Linked DNA regions of Homo sapiens: all the other regions are linked to region 2. The links are contacts of gene promoters, found by promoter capture Hi-C in blood cells and fetal thymus (Javierre and others, 2016). All regions are on one chromosome and are shown on one strand. Each heading gives the region's core, a stretch centred on a gene start or on the middle of the fragment in contact. The rest is flanking DNA. Distances are from core to core; before and after follow the strand shown.

Region 1 (2,722 bases), core at 100-2,599, 710 kb after region 2:
AAAACTCATGTGTACTACTTAAGTTTCCATCTTATACTGGTTTGTCCAGAACAACTAAAAGGATTTAGAAAATTAAAAAACAAAAAACAACAACAAAAAAACCCTGTGGTCAGATGTTCAATCTTTGGCCGGGAGTGGTGATTCACACCTGTAATCCCAACACTTTGGGAGGCTGAGGCAGGGGGATCACTTGAGGCCAGGAATTCAAGACCAGCCTGACTAACATGGCAAAACTTCATCTCTACTAAAAATACAAAAAAAAAAAAAAATTAGCTGGGCATGGTGGCACACGCCTCCCAGCTATTCAGGAGGCTGAGACACAAGAATCATTTGAACCCAGGAGGCGGAGGCTGCAGTGAGCTGAGATTGCACCACTGCATTCCAGCCTGCGTGACAGACTGAGACTCCTTCTCATAAAAATAAAAATAAAATAAAAAATTAGTCAAGTGAGATGGCATGTACCTACAGTTCCAGCTAATTGGGAGGTAGAGGCAAGAGAATCTCTTCTGCTCAGGAGTTCAAAGCTATAGTGAGCTATGACTGTGCCACTGCACGCCAGCCTGGGTGACAGAGTAAGACCCCATCTTGAGAAAGAAGAAAGAAAAGAAAAAGATGACCAAAAAGAATTGGCTGATTATCTCTCTACCATGGACTTAGTCCCTAACTAAAAATGAAGAAAGTTGGCTATTTACAACATGTAGAAAAACACAACAACAGAAACAATCCTTCATAGCAAACCCATGAAAATAAGAGGATATGGAATGGAAGGAAAACTTCATAGTTAAGGTTGGCAGGTAAAATATAAGATGCTCAGTTAAATTGTATAAGTATCTCCCAAATACCTAATATTTAAGGATTTCTTTTCAACAATTGACATCACAAAGTTAACAAATGGGTGACAGATTTGAAGAAGATACTTGTAATACACACAGACACACACACACACACACACACACACACACACACAACTAAACTAAAAGACATTGATATGTAAACCATGGAAGGAATCCTTGCAAATAAACAAAAACAGGATCTGGATCCCCATAAAATAATGGCCAAAGAACATGATTAGGTAATTCACAGAAAGGGAAAATAAATGACTTACAAGTATATCAGATAATATACCTAACTGCTGGGAAATGCAGGTTACAACAATAAGGCACAGAAAAACCAAAGTCAGAGGACTGACAATATCTCACTTCAAGACTTAGTATGAAAGCTTGGCTGGGTATGTCTCTACTAAAAATATAAAAATTAGCCAGGCGTGGTGGCAAGTGCCTGTAATCCCAGCTACTCAAGGGGCTGAGGCAGGAGAATCGCTTGAACCCAGGAGGCAGAGGTTGCAGTGAGCCAAAATCGCACCACTGCACTCCAGCCTGGGCGATGGAGCAAGACTCAGTCTAAAACAAAACAAAACAAACACACACACACACACACACACACACAAATCTATTTTTTAAAAAATGATAGTAGGTAAGACAAGCTTCAGCCCATTGCCCACCTTGTGGGTATAAAAGGGAAGCTTGATCACTGGTAGAGATTTGATAAAGACAAGTGTAGAGAGCTTCAGAAGTACCACTCAGAGAGCTTGCCCTGTGTCCTCTAGAATTTGGGAATGGGGAGGCTGGTAACTGACCCATGCCTAACTAGTCCTAAGGCAAGAGGCTGGCCAGCTACCCTAGCTCCCACAAGCAAGAAGTGTCTTCAGTGAGAAGAGGTTACACGTCCATGAAAAGAGGAGCAAAGGCAGCTGCTTCCTGTGGACCAGATTGGAGCCATCGTTTGTTGTCTTGAAAAGGACACCAGCAAGATGGCCCAGGCCAGCAGAGTGGATGTGGTGGAAGCACAAAGCAGGCAAGAAGAAAAAGAGCAAGGATTCAGTTCAAGAGATAAAGTGAATGCTTTTGAGAGAAATCATGTTATGTGCCAGGCTGCAAAAATGATTAGACAGGGTTCCTGTCTCTGTGCTTTCCAGCCATTGGAAGGTAAGTGGGTATTTAAATAATTTCAATATAGCGTGATGCTGAGGAGGTTAGATTTTATCCTGTAAGGCTCGGATGTCAGTGCCACTGAATGATTTAAGGGGATTTCACAATCAGATTTGGTGGCAATGTGAAATAGAGTTATGATGGGGCTAAATATGGAGGCAGAGAAAACAGTTAGATCAAAACATCAATTGCTGAATTCAAAATGAGTGTTAAGAGCCTGACCTAAGAAAGTGGTAGTAGATACGGAAAAGAAAAGGCAACGCAAGAAAAATCTGTGCAAGAGCCACAACAGACAAAACAGGCACACAAGGATTAATATGAGATTTACAATCGTAGTACTTCCGATGGTCTTAACCCAAGTGACAGGGTTAAGATTTGCGAGGCCATCAGCAACTCCTGCAATTGCCTCAGTTCTTGGCACCAAATTTAAATGGGGGTGATAAAAAGAGTGAAAAATAACAAAATAAGATACTATTTTATTCATACAGTCTGACCAAAAAAACTGGGTATATGAAAATTTTGAGAATGGGAAGAAACTGACACAATGCATTTTTGGCAGAAACGAAGACTGGTACAGACATTCTGGTGCTCAATGTACTCATATTTAGTAAAATTGGTTATGAAAACCATAAACATATCCTACATCACAGAAAGCACACTCCGAGAAAATTATCTGAGAAATTTCCCCATGTGCCCATAGAGGATACTCATCACAGCAGTTTGTAGAAGTAGGG
Region 2 (2,700 bases), core at 90-2,589:
TCTTTGTGGTGGAAGCTTAGTTTTGCCTTCAATTTAATTTGATGATTTTCTTTCATATTTGGGGAAGAGCCACTCTGTTGGAAGAAGTCCCCGAGCCTGGCACCCTTCAGTTTTCCCTATGCTGAATGTGAGATTTAAACTGCCTTTTCTTTGTAATACACTGTTTCTGAAGGCCAGAGGCTGCGGCCAGTGGCACCGTGGCCTCTCTCTCCGCCAAGGGCGCATAGGCTTTGGGCCACCCGGGTGCCAGGGGTGGTGGAAGACCCAGTCAGTTGTTCCTTGCAACAGGTCTCTAAGCTTGTATGTTACAACATAAGGTGGGTGGGGTCGGAACCCCGAAAAGCCGGCGTCCTGGACACCCCATCCTCCAGGTGTTCTTTCCCAGACACTGGGTCCTCGCCGCCGCTGCTGAACTTCTCAATCATATGACTTTCTCGGACTTAAATGGAAATTTCTTGACGGAGGGAACTGGGTTTGTTCTCCCAGGCTTCGCGCTGCAGTCAGGCAGAGCCCCGGGGCAGCTCGCTCACCGCGGAGGAGCCACTTTGGAGTTTTACGCCCTTTCCACACCCCACCCATGGACTGGAAAGGATGTTCAGTTACTCGCGAGCTTGTCTGATACTGGGATGGAAAGTCACAGTCCGCAGGCTGGAGTGAGGCGCGGGAAGATGCCTGGTCCTTGCCTCGCGGACTTGGCAGCCGCGTCCTGCGGGTCTGTCCACTGAACTGCTGAGGACTCGCCCGTGTGCGGGGACCCGAGTGCCACTTCCCGGAGCGTTACCTTGCGCTCCAGCCTCCAGGCTAGATAATACCTGGAAGGCAGGGCAGGGCTGTTCCCGCTCTCACCCCTTGCGGAAGGATGGCAGGATCCGGCGCAGCGACGTAGCAGCGGGAGGGCACAGCGACCTGCATCTCCAGTTTCTCCTCAGGACACAAGGCTGACTTCACCTTCCGGACAGCTGCAAAGCCCCTGCCAGAACCAAACCGAACTCGCGCCTCGGAGAGGGGCTTCTGGGGCCGTTTCGCTGCAGGGCGTGGGGAGTGGAGAGAGGGAAGGGGAAGCCTGGGGCTGGGTGTGCGCGCGTGGGAGCGCGCCTCGGAGCGCCCCGCACTCCCCCACTCTATCCCCGGGGGCAGTTTGGGAAGGAGGGAGTGGTAGTCGCGGGAATGAGGGAGCAAGAGAAACCCTCTCAAAGTGACGCCCCAAACAGGTCCGGATTTAGAATTCGAAGCTAAAGGCTGTTAGAAATTGGGACTCCTCGGCCTCCTCTGCAGCCCCTCCTTTCCCGCCCCGAAGCCCGGGCGGTTTGCTGGCTGCCTGCTTCCCCGCCCCCGGCTCAGAGGTCTCTGGCTGGCGGGCGCCCCGTCGGCCGCCGGCTTCCTCCTTGAAACCCGCCGGCGCACATGAGGCCGCTGCCCCCGCCGCAGGCGCTGGCGGCCCCCTCGCGGTGCCCGTGGTGATGCCATGCCCCGCCACCACGCGGGAGGAGAGGAGGGCGGCGCCGCCGGGCTCTGGGTGAAGAGCGGCGCAGCGGCGGCGGCGGCGGGCGGGGGGCGCTTGGGCAGCGGCATGAAGGATGTGGAGTCCGGCCGGGGCAGGGTGCTGCTGAACTCGGCAGCCGCCAGGGGCGACGGCCTGCTACTGCTGGGCACCCGCGCGGCCACGCTCGGTGGCGGCGGCGGTGGCCTGAGGGAGAGCCGCCGGGGCAAGCAGGGGGCCCGGATGAGCCTGCTGGGGAAGCCGCTCTCTTACACGAGTAGCCAGAGCTGCCGGCGCAACGTCAAGTACCGGCGGGTGCAGAACTACCTGTACAACGTGCTGGAGAGACCCCGCGGCTGGGCGTTCATCTACCACGCTTTCGTGTGAGTACCCGCGCCCCCTGCTATGCCCGCTGCAGGGGACCACTGTCCCTGGCCCCCTGGGGCGTGCTCCGCGCTCGCGCCCTTGGGCCCCCGCGCGCGTGCACACGTGGTGGCTTTTATTTCTTCGCACGTGTTCGTGGTCTTCCTTCTGGAGCCTCTCCCCTCCCCCAGCCCCACTTCTCTCATCTCTACAGCTTGAACCTTTTCCCCGAGGACACCCAATGAACTGCCCGGTAGCTTCAGGCTCCCGGGGCGAGAGCCAGGCAGACGCGGGACTTAGGCTGCGCGGATAATTGGGAGCAATTAGGTCCCAAGATACGTAAACTTCAACCGAACGGGGCGCCCGGGAGCTAGGGAATGCAAAGGGAGGACAGGCGCCCGTGTGAGGCTTGAGAGTATACTGGAGAGGTTAGGAGGTGATGGCGGGGTAGGACGGGGAGAAGTGAGGGGGCATCGAGGGCTAGGTCCTCAGTCCTAGGGGCGGAGTAGGGGAAGCTGCTACTTGGAGAGAGCTGCTAGGTTTTAAGCGCGCCCGGAAACACGCCTCGCCACCACCCAGCCACCACCAACGGAAAATCTGTCAGTGCATGTAGCCCTTCCTGCCACGGAGAAGGTGGCCAAGGTCTAGAGGAGGCCAGCAGGCCAGGCGAAGCAACGCTCCCGCGCTGCAGGGGGCGGGGAGGCAGCGGGGAACCTGGGGCGCAGGAACGCGGGCGGAGGTGCGATAGCAGAAGCGCAAATGGGTCGCCTCTGACAGAGATCGGGCAGTGGGTTAAGTCCCCGTTTGTGGCGCGGAGTCAAAGAGTGTGTGTGTGTGTGTGTGTGTGTGTGTGTGTG
Region 3 (2,808 bases), core at 30-2,529, 660 kb after region 2:
AAATCTGTATTCTTCTACTACTGAGACCCTAGGTACACAGTTAAACACTAGATGATTGACTGTTACAGTGATTGCATATTTATCAACCAGTTAGCCTTAATTAATGCATGTGGTATTAATGAATAAAAACCAGGTCAATCTGGCATGGTGGCTCATGCCTATAATCCCAGCACTTTGGGAGGCCAAGGCTCGCAGATCACTTGCAGTCAGGAGTTCAAGACCACCTTGGCCAACGTGACGAAACCCCGTCTCTACTAAAAATACAAAAAACTTAGCCAGGCATAGTGGCGCACACCTGTAATCCAGCTACTTGGGAGCCTGAGGCAGGAGAATTGCTTGAACCTGGGAGGTGGAGGCTGCAGTGAGCCAAGATCGCGCTCCAGCCTAGGTGACAGACCGAGCCTGTCTCAAAAAATAAAAATGAAAATAAAAAACCAAGTCAACTATATGGACATTTGACTGTATATAAATCTCTCTATATGCTCTACAGTATCAAGAAAAGTCTGCGAAAATTGCATATTAATAATTGGGAAAATATATTGAAATTTTTTTCTCCATTTGCCTCAATGATAACATGGGACCATGGATTTTTTTTTTTTTTTTTTTTTTTGAAGAGATGTGGTGTCGCTGTCACCCAGGCTGGAGTGCAGTGGCGAACATGGCTCACTGCAGCCTTGACCTCTTAGGCTCGAGCAATCCTCCTGCCTCAGTCCCCCAAGTAACTTGGACTATAGGCACCCACCACCACACCCAGCTAATGTTTATATTTTTCGTAGAGACAGAGTTTTGCTGTGTTGCCAGGCTGATCAACTCCTGAGCTTATGCAATCCACTCACCTCGGCCTCCCAAAGTGCCAGGATTACAGGCGTGAGCCACCTTGCCCGGCCAAGATGAGGTATTATTACATCATTATTGTAAGGTACTGTTGGGCCCTCTTTCTATTTTGTTATTTTGTATGTGATCATCATTGTTGCTCATCATTCCTGTTCTTGGTATAGTTCCTACTTTTTCTGCGTTCCTTTGGCCTATTCACAGTTTACTACATCCATCCTTCTCTACTTTTATAGTTAGAGAAATGTGATAGCCAGTCCTACACTTAATAGAAGAAATAATACCCAGATATTTACCCTCCTTCAAATTAAAATTAATAAAGATTAAATATATCCTTTTTTGTTTTATTTATTTTTGAGGAGACAGTCTCACTGTCACCCAGGTTGGAGTGCAATGGCACAATCACAACTCACTACAGCCTCTACCTACCCATGCTCAGGTGATCCTCCCATCTCAGCCTTCCAAGTAGCTGGAACCACAGGCATGCACCACCATGCTCGGCTAATGTTTGTATTTTATTTTTTGTAGAAATGGGGTTTTGCCATGTTGTCCAGGCTGGTCTCGAACTCCTGGGCTCAAGCAATCAGCCCACCTCAGCCTCCCAAAGTGCTGAGATTACTGGCATGACCCAACATGCCAAGCCAAACATATCCTTTTATGTGATTTATTTGTGAATTACAATGGTCTTTAATTTCTTTTTTTTTTTTTTTTTTTTGAGACTTTTTCTTTTCACTCTTGTTGCCCAGGCTGGAGTACAATGGCATAATCTCGGCTCACCGCAACCTCCACCTCCCAGGTTCAAGTGATTCTCCTGCCTCAGCCTCCCGAGTAGCTGGGATTACAGGCATGCACCACCACACACAGCTAATTTTGTATTTTTAGTAGCGATGGGGTTTCTCCATATTGGTCAGGCTGGTCTCAAACTCCAGACCTCAGGTGACCTGTCCACCTTGGCCTCCCAAAGTGCTGGGATTACAGGTGTGAGCCACCATGCCCAACCTAATTTCTTTTTTAATAGCTTTTTAAATCTTGTCAGTTTGCATTTTCCCCAGAACTCCCTTCTGTGATCATATATCTTCTTCCTAAAGCACATCCTTTAGAAGTTTTGGCTGGGCATGGTGGCTTACGCCTGTAATCCCAACACTTTGGGAGACCAAGTAGGGCAAATCACTTGAGGTCAGGAGTTTGAGATCAGCCTGGCCAACATGGGGAAACCCTGTCTCTACTAAAAATACAAAAATTAGCCTGGCATGGTGGTGCCTGTCTGTAATCCCAGCACTTTGGGAGGCCAAGGCAGGCGGATCACCTGAGATCAGGAGTTTGAGACCAGCCTAACATGGAGAAACCTTGTCTCTACTAAAAATAGAAATTTAGCCAGGCGTGGTGGCACACACCTGTAATCCCAGCTACTCAGGAGGCTAAGGCAGGAGAATCACTTGAACCTGGGAGGCAGAGGTTGCAGTGAGCCAAGCTCATGCCACGGCACTCCAGCCTGGGTGACAGAACGAGACTCTCTCAAAAAAAAAAACAAAAAACCACCTGGGTGCAGTGGGTCACACCTGTAATCCCAGCATTTCCTGAAGGTCAAGAGTTCAAGACCAGCCTTGCCAACATGGTGAAACTCCGTCTCTACTTAAAATATAAAAAATCAGCCAGGCGTGGTGATGGGCGCCTGTAATCCCAGCTACTTGGGAGGCTGAGGCAGGAGAATCGCTTGAACCCAGGAGGCAAAGATTCCAGTGAGCCAAGATCGCGCCATTGCACTCCAGCCTGGGCAGTAAGAGTGAAACTTCGTCTCAAAAAAAAAAAAAAAAAAATGGGTTCTAGATTTACAGAAGAGTTGTGAGGATAGTACAGAGTGCCCATTTACTCCACACTCAGTTTTTCCTATTATTAACATCTTATATTAAAGCCCATACTTTATTCTGATTTCCTTAGTTTTTACCTAAGGTCCTTTTTCTGCCCCAGGAGCCCAAA
Region 4 (2,700 bases), core at 5-2,504, 680 kb after region 2:
TCAGGTTTCACAGAACTGGACTGTGAAACAAGGTCCAGTTTCCTTTCTGAATCTATCAGTCACCAACATAGCTGGTCTGGGATGCGTTTTCTTTGGAGGTCTTTGAAAACTACTAAAACCCAAAGTATCAAGATATATCCTGGTAATATTTTTGCAATTCTGGGAACATATATAACAAATTGCATCCCATTCCAGTATTAAAATAAGTATAGAAGCCAGATGCAGTGCTTCACACTTGTAATCCAAGCACTTTGGGAGGCTGAGGTGGGCAGATCACCTGAGGTCAGGGGTTCAAGACCAGCCTGGCCAATATGGTGAAACTTCATCTATACTAAAAATACAAAAATTAGCTGGGCATGGTGGCAGACTCCTGTAATCTCAGCTTCTCGGGAGGCTGAGGCACGAAAATTGCTTGAACCTGGGAAGCAGAGGTTGCAGTGAGCCAAGATTGCGCTACTGCACTCCAGCCTGCCTAAGTGACAGAGCAAGACTCCATCTCAAAAATATATATATAATATAAAAAATATAGAGAGAGATAATAAAGAAACAAATTTGAAGTCATGGAATTCGCCTTTCTTAAACTGGTTTCAATGAAACTGTTATCTATTTTGTATTCACTACAATCATAAGGAGACAACATAGCATAAGAGCCAAGATTCAAACCTCAACTTTTCCATTTACTGGATGAGTGACTTTAGATAAGTTTTTTAGTTTCTCTGTGTCTGAAATTCAAGGCAGTAATCAGAGAACCAATCTCATGGGCTTCTTTGAATATTGAAGAAGAGCACACATCCAAAACAGAAAGGACCTGGCACTTGAGCAAGCCCTCAAAGGTTAACAAATAAATTTTTAAGATATTCTAGCTACTTTTAAAAGTTTTTAGCATTTAAGAGAATATAATATATTGGATTTTGATTTAATTATTATTATTTTTTGAGACATAGTCTCACTCTGTCACCCAGGCTGGAGTGCAGTGGCACGATCTTGGCTCACTGCAACCTCCACCTCCTGGGTTCAAGTGATTCTCCTGCCTCAGGTTCCCAAGTAGCTGGGATTACAGGAGCCCGCCACCACACCCCGCTAATTTTTGTATTTTTAGTAGAGACGGGGTTCACCATGTTGGCCAGGATGGTCTTGAACTCCTGACCTCAAGTGATCTGCCCACCTTGGCCTCCCAAAGTGATGGAATTACAGGTGTGAGCCACCACGCCTGGCCTCTGATTATTTTTAAATTGAGCAAATTATATTTTTAAGTCTGTAAGTTTTGGGTTATTAGTTATGAAAGCAGGTACATATGCATTTAGTGTTTTTATTGCGGAAATGTTAATTAGTAGTCATAAATTAAGTAATCAGGGATTAAACAAAATGAGTATTCTTTATCTTCAACCAGAATGAATCTTTCCATATAGCTCCCTGAATCCTCACCCTTCCTGCCTCCTGCTCCTACTTATACTCCTCCTTCTACCAGAAACTGCTCCCCTCCACCAGAGCTCTAAATCACAACCCCTCTGCTTTCACTGGGGCTTGGAGGCTGCTACCTCTAGACTCTCCCTCCCACTGCATCAACTCTGCCCTCCCTCACCCGACACCCCGAGTAATTAAGCTCCCTCTTCCCCCAGCCTCTCCGTTCCCAGCTATTTCCCCATCCCAACAAAAATTACCCAGGTTTTCCCATCCAGGAGCATCAGTTCTGCTTACTAAAAACGTCCACTAAACATATTCCACATGCATCCCCATTTAAATTTTTCAACTCACTCCAACCTGGTTTCTGAGAATCTCACTCCTGCAACTGAACTGCTTGTGCTAAAGCTAGCAGTGAGCCCTGTGGTTCACAAACCAAGGAGCTATTTCATGCCCTCATCTGACTGGACTGCTGGACAGAATTCCCCAGAATAGATAATACCCTCCTTCTAGCTTGGGGTGGGGGTTGGTGCCCCGGGGCAGTGGGGGTGGGAGTTGAAGACTATTTAGAAAATTTTCACTTAGCTGGGCGTGGTGGCTCATGCCTGCAATCCCAACACTTTGGGAGGCCGAGGCAGGCAGATCACGAGGTCAAGAGATCGAGACCATCCTGGCCAACACGGTGAAACCCCGTCTCTACTAAAAATACAAAAAAATTAGCCAGGTGTGGTGGCGCACGCCTGTAGTCCCAGCTACTCAGGAGACTGAGGCAGGAGAATCGCTTGAACCCAGGAGGCAGAGATGGCAGTGAGTTGAGATTGTGCCACTGCACTCCAGCCTGGGTGACAGACCAGGAAGAAAGAGAGAAAATAAAACTTTCACTTAAACCCCCAAACACTGTGAGAAGACACAACTACCTTTTGAAAATGTTTTTCCTTTTACCCTGGAAAGAACACTGATCAACACTAAACTAATGTAAATTATTTATTATATAACCATTAGAGCAGCCGGGCAAGGTGGCTCATGCCTGTAATCCCAGCACCCAGGAGGCTGAGGCGGGTGGATCACGAGGTTAGGAGTTCAAGACCAGCCTGGACAAGATGGTGAAACCCCGTCTCTATTAAAAATATAAAAATTAGCCAGGCGTGATGCCGGGCGCCTGTAATCCCAGCTACTCGGGAGGCTGGCAGAGAATTGCTTGAACCCGGGAGGCGGAGGTTGCAATGAGCCGAGATCAGGCCACTGCACTCCAGCCTGGCGACAGAGCGAGACCCTGTCTCACAATAAATAAATAAATTA
Region 5 (2,700 bases), core at 199-2,698, 580 kb after region 2:
AGCAACAAAGCCCGATAGAGATGTTTTAGACAGGAGGAAGAATTACAGAGTGTTATCCTAGAGGGAAGAAAGGGCTTCCCACTACTGCTCTAAAGAGATCAAATAGTTATGTGCCTGTTCTATCAACTTCTAGATGAGGGAAAAGAAAATTGTGTATGGTATATGCTTGCTTGACCAACTTAAAAATGTTAAACCGCTTCCAAACATTTTTGGAAATACTTTAGCAGTACTTCCCACTCCTTCCATTTAAAGCAAAATATACTTACAACAGTTATTCTATCCTAACCATTCATGAAAATGGGCTGCCAGATCTTCAAGTGACAACTTCTATCAGTCTAGATTCAACTGCTTTGAGAATCTGGTACAAGTAAAAATTGTTTCTTTGAAAAACTTAAATTTTATCTCACACAGCTCTGAGATTTGAAAACAAAATAGAAATCTAAAAATGTTTTTAAAATAAAAATAGGCTGAGCACAGTGGCTCACGCCTGTAATCCCAGCCCTTTGGGAGGCCGAGGTAGTTGGATCCCCTGAGGTCAGGAATTCAAGACTAGCCTGACCAATATGGTGAAACCCCACCTCTACTAAAAGTACAAAAATCAGCCAGGCGTGGTGGTGTGCGCCTATAGTCCCAGCTACTCAGGAGGCTAAGACAGGAGAATTGCTTGAACCCGAGAGGCAGAGGTTGCAGTGAGCCAAGATTGCAGAGATCACACCACTGCACTCCAGCCTGGGCAACAGAGTGAGACTCCATCTCAATAAATAAATAAACTAATTAATTAAATAAAACAAATTTTCATTAACTGCGACAAGACTTCTCCCTCTAGCCCACCTAATTCCAAATTACTGAAGTTTTTGCTACATTTCAAAACAGAAACGTAGCAGATACATTATGCACAAACTATCGATTTAGGCACTGCTCTGGAAATCACAGCACCACAAAAACTGGTGAATGGCAAAACTTTCCTGTTCAAATAAATAGGAAGGTCAAAGGTACATTGATATGATATATTACTCTTTGCCTAGTCATATGATTTACTTCTTTTCTGTCACAATGTTGGCGACTATTTTAAGTCCAGTATGCTCTAGGATAGATATCAGGGTTCTAGGGTTTCCATACACTGTCATAACACCTGCACCTACTTTTAGAACTTTTCACTTGTATGCTTTTTTAGGTTTTTTTGGTTTTGTTTGTTTGTTTGTTTTGTTTGATTGTTTTTGGACACAGTCTCTCTCTCTGTCACCCAGGCTGGAGTGCAGTGGTGCAATCTCAGTTCACTGCAACCTCTACCTCCCAGGTTCAAGCAATTCTCGTGCCTCAGCTTCCTGAGTAGCTGGGATTACAGGTGTACACCACCATGCCCGGCTAATTTTTTGTGTTTTAGTAGAGACGAGGTTTCACCATGTTGCCCAGGCTGGTGTCAAACTCCTGAGCTCAGAGGATCCACTCGCCTTGGTCTCTAAAAGTGCTAAGATTTACAGGCATGAGCCACCGTGCACAGCAGCTTTTTTTATCTTTGGTGACACTCATCTCTTTCCATTACTTGCTGCTTCTTCCTTCTCTGTTCCTTTGCCTGCATTGCTGTGACTCACTTCCTGTATCACCAATCCCTATCCATTCCTGTGCCCCCCAAGTAACTAGGTACTCACACCCTCCCCTTGCTGCAGCTCAGGGTGCCACTCACCCTCACTTAAGCCATGAGGACATCACACCATGCACACCCCCAACACATAGATGCTTTTCAGAAGTGCTGGCACTGGCGCTCCTCATCTGAGCCCTCTGGCCAATGCTGCAATGCCCAGTTCTACCCCCGCTACCAGAAATCCCTCTGCTTGCTTGGTGGGAGAGGAGGCAAACCCCACTCCAGGATGGGAGCTCCTTGCTCTCTTTTTTTTTTTTTTTTTTTTTTTTTTTTTGAGACAGGCTGGGGTACTGTGGCACGATCTCGGCTCACTGCAACCTCAACCTCTCGGGTTCAAGAAATTTTCCTGCCTCAGCCTCCCTAGTAGCTGGGATAACAGGTGTGTGCTACCACGCCTGGCTAATTTTGGGGTTTTATTTTTTGTTGTTGTTGTTGTTGTTTTATTTTTCTGAGATGGAGTTTTGGTCTTGTTGCCCAGGCTGGAGTACAATGGTGCAATCTCAGCTCACTGCAACCTCCACCTCCTGGGTTCAAGCAATTCTCCTGCCTCAGCCTCCGGAGTAGCTGGGATTACAGGCATGCAACACCATGCCCACCTAATTTTTGCATTTTTAGTAAAGACGGGGTTTCACCATGTTAGCCAGGCTGGGTCTTGAACTCCTGACCTCAGGTCATCCACCCTCCCCCGCCTCCCAAAGTGTTGGGATTACAGGCGTTAGCCACCACGCCTGGCCTAATTTTTGTATTTTTAATAGAGATGGGGTTTTACCATGTTGGTCAGGCTGGTCTTGAACTCCTGACCTCAGGTGATCCGTCCACCTCAGCCTCCCAAAGTGCTGGGATTACAGGCATGAGCCACCACGCCTGGCCACTCCTTGCCTTTAGGGTAAACTAACTCTTCCACTCTGGGTTCCCAAGCCCTTGGTTGTCACCTGCTGCCCCTCCCCTTCCCCATATCTACAGCATCTCACCCTTTCCCCTCATAAGTATGCTTAAGCCTCTCCCATGTTACCAACAACTTTCCAGTACCCTCTCTTCCTCTTTTTTTTTTTTTTTTT
Region 6 (2,700 bases), core at 64-2,563, 900 kb after region 2:
CAATACGATTACAGAAGTCACCAAAAGCAAAATTATTTCATAAGTAAGGTCTTAACTATTAGCATTCAGATCTAAACCACTCACTAGTTCTGGGGAAATCACCTAATGATTCTGCTGGTAAAACTCATTTTAGTTGATCTTTCCCTTTCTGGTATTAAACATACCTCAGCAGCCTCCTTCTCAAATTTTTCAATGGTTCTTTTGTCGATGCCACCGCATTTATAGATCAGATGGCCAGTAGTGGTGGACTTGCCCGAATCTACGTGTCCAATGACGACAATGTTGATATGAGTCTTTTCCTTTCCCATTTTGGCTTTTAGGGGTAGTTTTCACGACACCTGAAATGGAAGAAAAAAACTTTGAACCACTGTCTGAGGCTTGAGAATGAACCAAGATCCAAACTCAAAAAGGGCAAATTCCAAGGAGAATTACATCAAGTGCCAAGCTGGCCTAACTTCAGTCTCCACCCACTCAGTGTGGGGAAACTCCATCGCATAAAACCCCTCCCCCCAACCTAAAGACGACGTACTCCAAAAGCTCGAGAACTAATCGAGGTGCCTGGACGGCGCCCGGTACTCCGTGGAGTCACATGAAGCGACGGCTGAGGACGGAAAGGCCCTTTTCCTTTGTGTGGGTGACTCACCCGCCCGCTCTCCCGAGCGCCGCGTCCTCCATTTTGAGCTCCCTGCAGCAGGGCCGGGAAGCGGCCATCTTTCCGCTCACGCAACTGGTGCCGACCGGGCCAGCCTTGCCGCCCAGGGCGGGGCGATACACGGCGGCGCGAGGCCAGGCACCAGAGCAGGCCGGCCAGCTTGAGACTACCCCCGTCCGATTCTCGGTGGCCGCGCTCGCAGGCCCCGCCTCGCCGAACATGTGCGCTGGGACGCACGGGCCCCGTCGCCGCCCGCGGCCCCAAAAACCGAAATACCAGTGTGCAGATCTTGGCCCGCATTTACAAGACTATCTTGCCAGAAAAAAAGCGTCGCAGCAGGTCATCAAAAATTTTAAATGGCTAGAGACTTATCGAAAGCAGCGAGACAGGCGCGAAGGTGCCACCAGATTCGCACGCGGCGGCCCCAGCGCCCAAGCCAGGCCTCAACTCAAGCACGAGGCGAAGGGGCTCCTTAAGCGCAAGGCCTCGAACTCTCCCACCCACTTCCAACCCGAAGCTCGGGATCAAGAATCACGTACTGCAGCCAGGGGCGTGGAAGTAATTCAAGGCACGCAAGGGCCATAACCCGTAAAGAGGCCAGGCCCGCGGGAACCACACACGGCACTTACCTGTGTTCTGGCGGCAAACCCGTTGCGAAAAAGAACGTTCACGGCGACTACTGCACTTATATACGGTTCTCCCCCACCCTCGGGAAAAAGGCGGAGCCAGTACACGACATCACTTTCCCAGTTTACCCCGCGCCACCTTCTCTAGGCACCGGTTCAATTGCCGACCCCTCCCCCCAACTTCTCGGGGACTGTGGGCGATGTGCGCTCTGCCCACTGACGGGCACCGGAGCCTCACGCATGCTCTTCTCCACCTCAGTGATGACGAGAGCGGGCGGGTGAGGGGGCGGGAACGCAGCGATCTCTGGGTTCTACGTTAGTGGGAGTTTAACGACGGTCCCTGGGATTCCCCAAGGCAGGGGCGAGTCCTTTTGTATGAATTACTCTCAGCTCCGGTCGGGGCGGGTTGGGGGGGGTGGTGACGGGGAGGCCGCCTGGAAGGGACGTGCAGAATCTTCCCTCTACCATTGCTGGCTTAGCTCCAAAGGTTGTATTGAGATTAGGGTGTACCTTCGCCTCTCAATCAGCCTCCCGTCCTCAGCCTTGCCATCTCGCTAGTCCGGGACAAATCCCTAGAGCGTCTTCCTCTGCGGGTCTCAGCCCAGCCCGGGGTTGGCTCCTCCTCCGCCCCGGCTTCCGCGCCCCTCCCGTGTGGCAAGGAGTACCAGGCCCGGGGACCCCGAGGGGCTTGGGGCGAAGGGTCGGGACTGGGGGCCTCCTTAACGGCTCACGGACTTGCGAGAGGTTCGGCTCGATGGCCGTGAAAGCGACGAATCCGCTCCTGTGCTGGCCTCTTGGCTCCTTCCATTCAAAGCCAGCTGCTTTTATGGAAGCCCGTAACACGTCATCTCCCCCTGGTACTCCAGATGTCCAGGCTTTCAGTTTAGAATAGACTCAGTCCTACAGTTAGCTTTAGATCTAATTCTAGTTTTGTTACGCCAAAAAGTTCCTGCGAGTGTGTGTGTGTGCCTCATGGTACTTTTTAAATTAAAAGGTGTACAGTTATTTGATTGCAAACATAAGGAACCTAAAATGCTTTCAGATTTTCCACATGATCTCATGTAGAGGCTAAGATCTACAGCATCAGCAAGTTTATCCACCCAGTTTCCTAACCCCAACACTTGCTATGAAGTCACAGCTTCTCCTATTTAAATAAGTGCCTATTATATTTAAATAAGTGCTGTCGTTTTCTGTCATCCTATCGATTGTAACTGCATTTTAGCATAAATCTAGGGCAAGATTGGATGAGCTTGGCCTTTTTGGATGGCTATCAAGGCAGGCCTTGGGAAATGCTCCTCTGAGGAAAGAAGAACGTTTATTTTTAATGAGCTAATTACTAGATCATTATGTTTCTTCTTCCAGCTGTAGAATATCATTGCCCAGCTTCTCGAACAAACTTATTTATTAACAAGTATTTGAGAA
Region 7 (2,700 bases), core at 180-2,679, 770 kb after region 2:
AATTTGTTCAGATAATTCAAAGATCCTAATCAAAGGAGTGCACTTGCAGCTGGCTTGAAGCCCTGGAGTAGTAGTATGTCCAGCCACAGAGCCAGGCTGCAGTGACGGTAATGCTTCAGGAATCTATTCAATTTATTTCCTTAGCTCTAAAATTATGGCAGGCCAGGCACTGTGGCTCATACCTGTAATCCCTCAACTGTGTGAGGCCAAGGCAGGAGGAGTTGGATACCAGCCCGGGCAACATAGGGAGGTCTTGTCTTTACAAAATAATTAGCCTGGCATGGTGGTGCACACCTGTAGTCCCAACTATTCGGGAGGCTGTGGTGGGAGTATCACTTGAGTCCAACAGGTCGAATCTGCAGTGAGTGATCGCACCACTGCACTCCAGCCTAGGCGACAGAGGTCAAAAACAAAACAAAAGAAAACAAACAAAAAAAACATAGCAAACATCCAGAAGACTGTGTAGAGCAATGAATGTCTCTCAAGCCAGTGATCTTTTTCTCTTCATTTTTCACATCAGGTGGGTAGTGTGCCCACTTCGTAACAAGGTTTGAGGGAGGCACATTTGACACAAGAGCATGAAAACCCAATCACACTTATGACTTACAAAAGGATCAAGTCAGTGATCTTTAAGCTGTGGGCCATTAAATACATTTTGTGAGCCGAGTGCAGTGGCTCAGGCCTGTAACCCCAGCACTATGGGAGGTGGAGGTGGGAGGATCACTTGAGTCCAGGAGTTCAAGACCAGCCTTGGGCAACATACTGGGAACTCCCATCTCTATTAAATTTTTTTTTTTTAATTTTGTGGATTACAACCATTTCAAAAACTAAAATAAGCGTAAATGTATCAAAATGCAGCTTACATAGCGAGGATAAATGCTGTTTTGTCAATCTGTTGTTTCAAGTTTTTTATGTGTGGATTGGGTCACCTTGTAACAGTGACTTACCTTTATGGGTCACGGTTGAAAACATTTCCGGTGCAGTGGCTGACTGTAATCCCAGCACTTTGGGAGGCCGAGGCTGGAAGATCACTTGAAGCCAGAAGCCAAGAGTTCAAGACCTGCCTGGGCAACACGGCGACACCCCGTCTCTATTTAAAAAGAAAAAAAAAAGTTTCCAAGGCACTGAGATGCCAGGAACCCGAGGTGTGTGTCCAGTAGGGGAGGGAGCAAATTGGGCGTTTGGAAAAAGTCCCACGCCTGGAAAGGAATACACAGTGGGGGGGTGGGGGGCGGGGCACATCGACTACTTCAAGGCACACTCCCACGGTTCAGAAAACCGATTGGCTAAAACTGGGAAAGTCCCGCCCACAACGCTCACTGGCCAATGGCTGCGTGAAATCAGTGCGAAGTGGGCGGGATAGAGAGCGTGGGCGGGGGGGCTAGCCTCGTGCGGGCTCCTTAAGTAGCGGCTGCGTGGCTTCCCTGGCACGCTACTCTTACGACGTCACGGTCAGGTGGTGCAGAGCTGGACGGCAACGACGTCGGACGCGCCCCTTCTTGGAACAATGTCCCACCACGGAGGAGCTCCCAAGGCCTCTACGTGGGTCGTTGCTAGTCGGCGAAGCTCGACAGTGTCCCGAGCGCCAGAGAGGAGGCCGGCGGAGGAGTTGAATCGAACAGGTCCTGAGGGATATAGTGTCGGCAGAGGTGGTCGCTGGAGAGGCACCTCTAGGCCCCCGGAGGCCGTGGCCGCTGGTCACGAGGAACTGCCGCTGTGTTTTGCTTTGAAGAGCCACTTTGTTGGCGCGGTAATCGGTGAGAATGGGAGTGGCTGGCAGGGCAGGATAGGTGGGGCCAGGGGCGGAGCCTGGGCGAAGGCATTTCCTCCCCACTGCCTCACCTCCAATCAGCTGCCACCTAGTGAGGTTCAGGTCTCTCCCAGAGCTATTTGTAAAACCTGGGGATAGAGTATAATTTAATCTGGCCGGGCGCGTTGGCTCACGCCTGTAATCCCAGTATTTTGGGAGGCCGAGGCGGGCGGATCACCCCAGGTCAGGAATTCGAGACCAGCTTGGCCAACATGGCAAAACCCTGTCTCTACTAAAAATATATATATTAAAAAAAATAGCTGGGCGTGGTGGCGCGCGCCTGTAATCCCAGATACTCCGGAGGCTGAGGCAGGAGAATGGCTTGAACCCGGCGGCAGAAGTTGGCAGTGAGCTGAGATCGCGCCACTGCACTCCAGCCTAGGTGACAGAGCAAGACTCCGTCTCAATTAAAAAAAAAAAAAAAAAGTAATTTAATCCACCTTTTGGTGTTTATACAGACAATGTATTTGGGAGAGCAACTCCTAGAAGACTTATGAAATCTTAGGGCTGAAGAGGGATGCTTAGAACAGGCCTTTTAACAGACAGCTAACCCCAGAATGAAAAACAAAACTTAATCAGTCTTTCTATGAGTACCATTTAGAGCCAGAAATCAAAGAAAAGCTATAAGGTCATTGTAGGGCTGCCTAGAGCAGTTGTATCTTGCTTTTAGTTTCCTTAATTTTTAAAAAGTTAAAAACTTTTCTTACTACATCTTGAGTGTTAACATTCAATTCTGAATTTTTAATTTTTTTCTTTCTTTTGATTTTTTTTTTTTTTGAGGCAGCTCTGTGGCCCCAGCTGGAGTGCAGTGTGGCGTGATCTCGGCTCACTACAACTTCCACCTCCCGGGCTCAAGCGATTCTAGCACCTCAGCCTCCCTAGTAGCTGAA

The links. Contacts are between HindIII fragments. The CHiCAGO score rates a contact against its expected background, and 5 or more counts as called.
Region 1: a fragment that was not itself captured here is called in contact with the fragment with the promoter of KCNQ5 in region 2 in 1 of 17 cell types (total CD8 T cells); the score reaches 6.2 in total CD8 T cells.
Region 3: a contact is called between a fragment that was not itself captured here and the fragment with the promoter of KCNQ5 in region 2, in 1 of 17 cell types (fetal thymus). The highest score is 5.9, in fetal thymus.
Region 4: a fragment that was not itself captured here is called in contact with the fragment with the promoter of KCNQ5 in region 2 in 5 of 17 cell types (fetal thymus, naive CD4 T cells, total CD4 T cells and 2 more); the score reaches 9.3 in fetal thymus.
Region 5: a contact is called between a fragment that was not itself captured here and the fragment with the promoter of KCNQ5 in region 2, in 3 of 17 cell types (M2 macrophages, total B cells and M0 macrophages). The highest score is 9.7, in M2 macrophages.
Region 6: the fragment with the promoter of EEF1A1 here is called in contact with the fragment with the promoter of KCNQ5 in region 2 in 4 of 17 cell types (naive CD8 T cells, non-activated CD4 T cells, activated CD4 T cells and 1 more); the score reaches 9.8 in naive CD8 T cells.
Region 7: a contact is called between the fragment with the promoter of DDX43 here and the fragment with the promoter of KCNQ5 in region 2, in 1 of 17 cell types (naive CD8 T cells). The highest score is 5.6, in naive CD8 T cells.

Annotation. Positions count from the first base shown.
Region 1 is chr6:73,330,985-73,333,706 of GRCh38, forward strand. It overlaps the pseudogene PAICSP3. Among named protein-coding and RNA genes, the nearest start is that of DPPA5, 22 kb to the right of the region's middle. The HindIII fragment of the contact is 264 bases long and covers 1,218-1,481 here.
Region 2 is chr6:72,620,725-72,623,424 of GRCh38, forward strand. It overlaps KCNQ5 (potassium voltage-gated channel subfamily Q member 5), which reads left to right and starts at 1,340. Exons shown (of 14, transcript NM_019842.4): 1 at 1,340-1,863. The coding sequence starts at 1,466. KCNQ5-DT (KCNQ5 divergent transcript) reads right to left here and starts at 1,955. Exons shown (of 3, transcript NR_186827.1): 1 at 1,808-1,955. RefSeq lists silencers at 1,335-1,594, 2,625-2,674 and an enhancer at 2,025-2,700. The HindIII fragment of the contact is 6,363 bases long and covers 296-2,700 here.
Region 3 is chr6:73,278,989-73,281,796 of GRCh38, forward strand. All of the region lies in intron 3 of C6orf147 (chromosome 6 open reading frame 147), which reads right to left. The region is part of intron 2 of LOC122539213 (KHDC1-KHDC1L); the gene reads right to left. It also overlaps a transcript of KHDC1 not described here and the pseudogene KHDC1-AS1. Among named protein-coding and RNA genes, the nearest start is that of KHDC1, 17 kb to the left of the region's middle. The HindIII fragment of the contact is 6,698 bases long and covers 1-2,808 here.
Region 4 is chr6:73,304,743-73,307,442 of GRCh38, forward strand. All of the region lies in intron 2 of C6orf147 (chromosome 6 open reading frame 147), which reads right to left. All of the region lies in intron 1 of LOC122539213 (KHDC1-KHDC1L), which reads right to left. It also overlaps a transcript of KHDC1 not described here. Among named protein-coding and RNA genes, the nearest start is that of C6orf147, 4.3 kb to the right of the region's middle. RefSeq lists an enhancer at 2,646-2,700. The HindIII fragment of the contact is 7,042 bases long and covers 1-2,700 here.
Region 5 is chr6:73,199,378-73,202,077 of GRCh38, forward strand. No RefSeq gene overlaps it. Among named protein-coding and RNA genes, the nearest start is that of KHDC1L, 25 kb to the right of the region's middle. The HindIII fragment of the contact is 6,966 bases long and covers 1-2,700 here.
Region 6 is chr6:73,519,719-73,522,418 of GRCh38, forward strand. EEF1A1 (eukaryotic translation elongation factor 1 alpha 1) reads right to left here and starts at 1,314. Exons shown (of 8, transcript NM_001402.6): 1 at 1,282-1,314; 2 at 165-338. The coding sequence starts at 308. RefSeq lists enhancers at 1-474, 432-731, 475-1,296, 1,022-1,131, 1,182-1,261 and 1 more and a silencer at 1,842-2,071. The HindIII fragment of the contact is 5,848 bases long and covers 1-2,700 here.
Region 7 is chr6:73,393,399-73,396,098 of GRCh38, forward strand. DDX43 (DEAD-box helicase 43) reads left to right here and starts at 1,430. Exons shown (of 17, transcript NM_018665.3): 1 at 1,430-1,757. The coding sequence starts at 1,508. It overlaps LOC124901538 (small nucleolar RNA U13), which reads right to left and starts at 615; the gene lies at 515-615. It also overlaps a transcript of OOEP not described here. RefSeq lists an enhancer at 1,047-1,547. The HindIII fragment of the contact is 12,904 bases long and covers 1-2,700 here.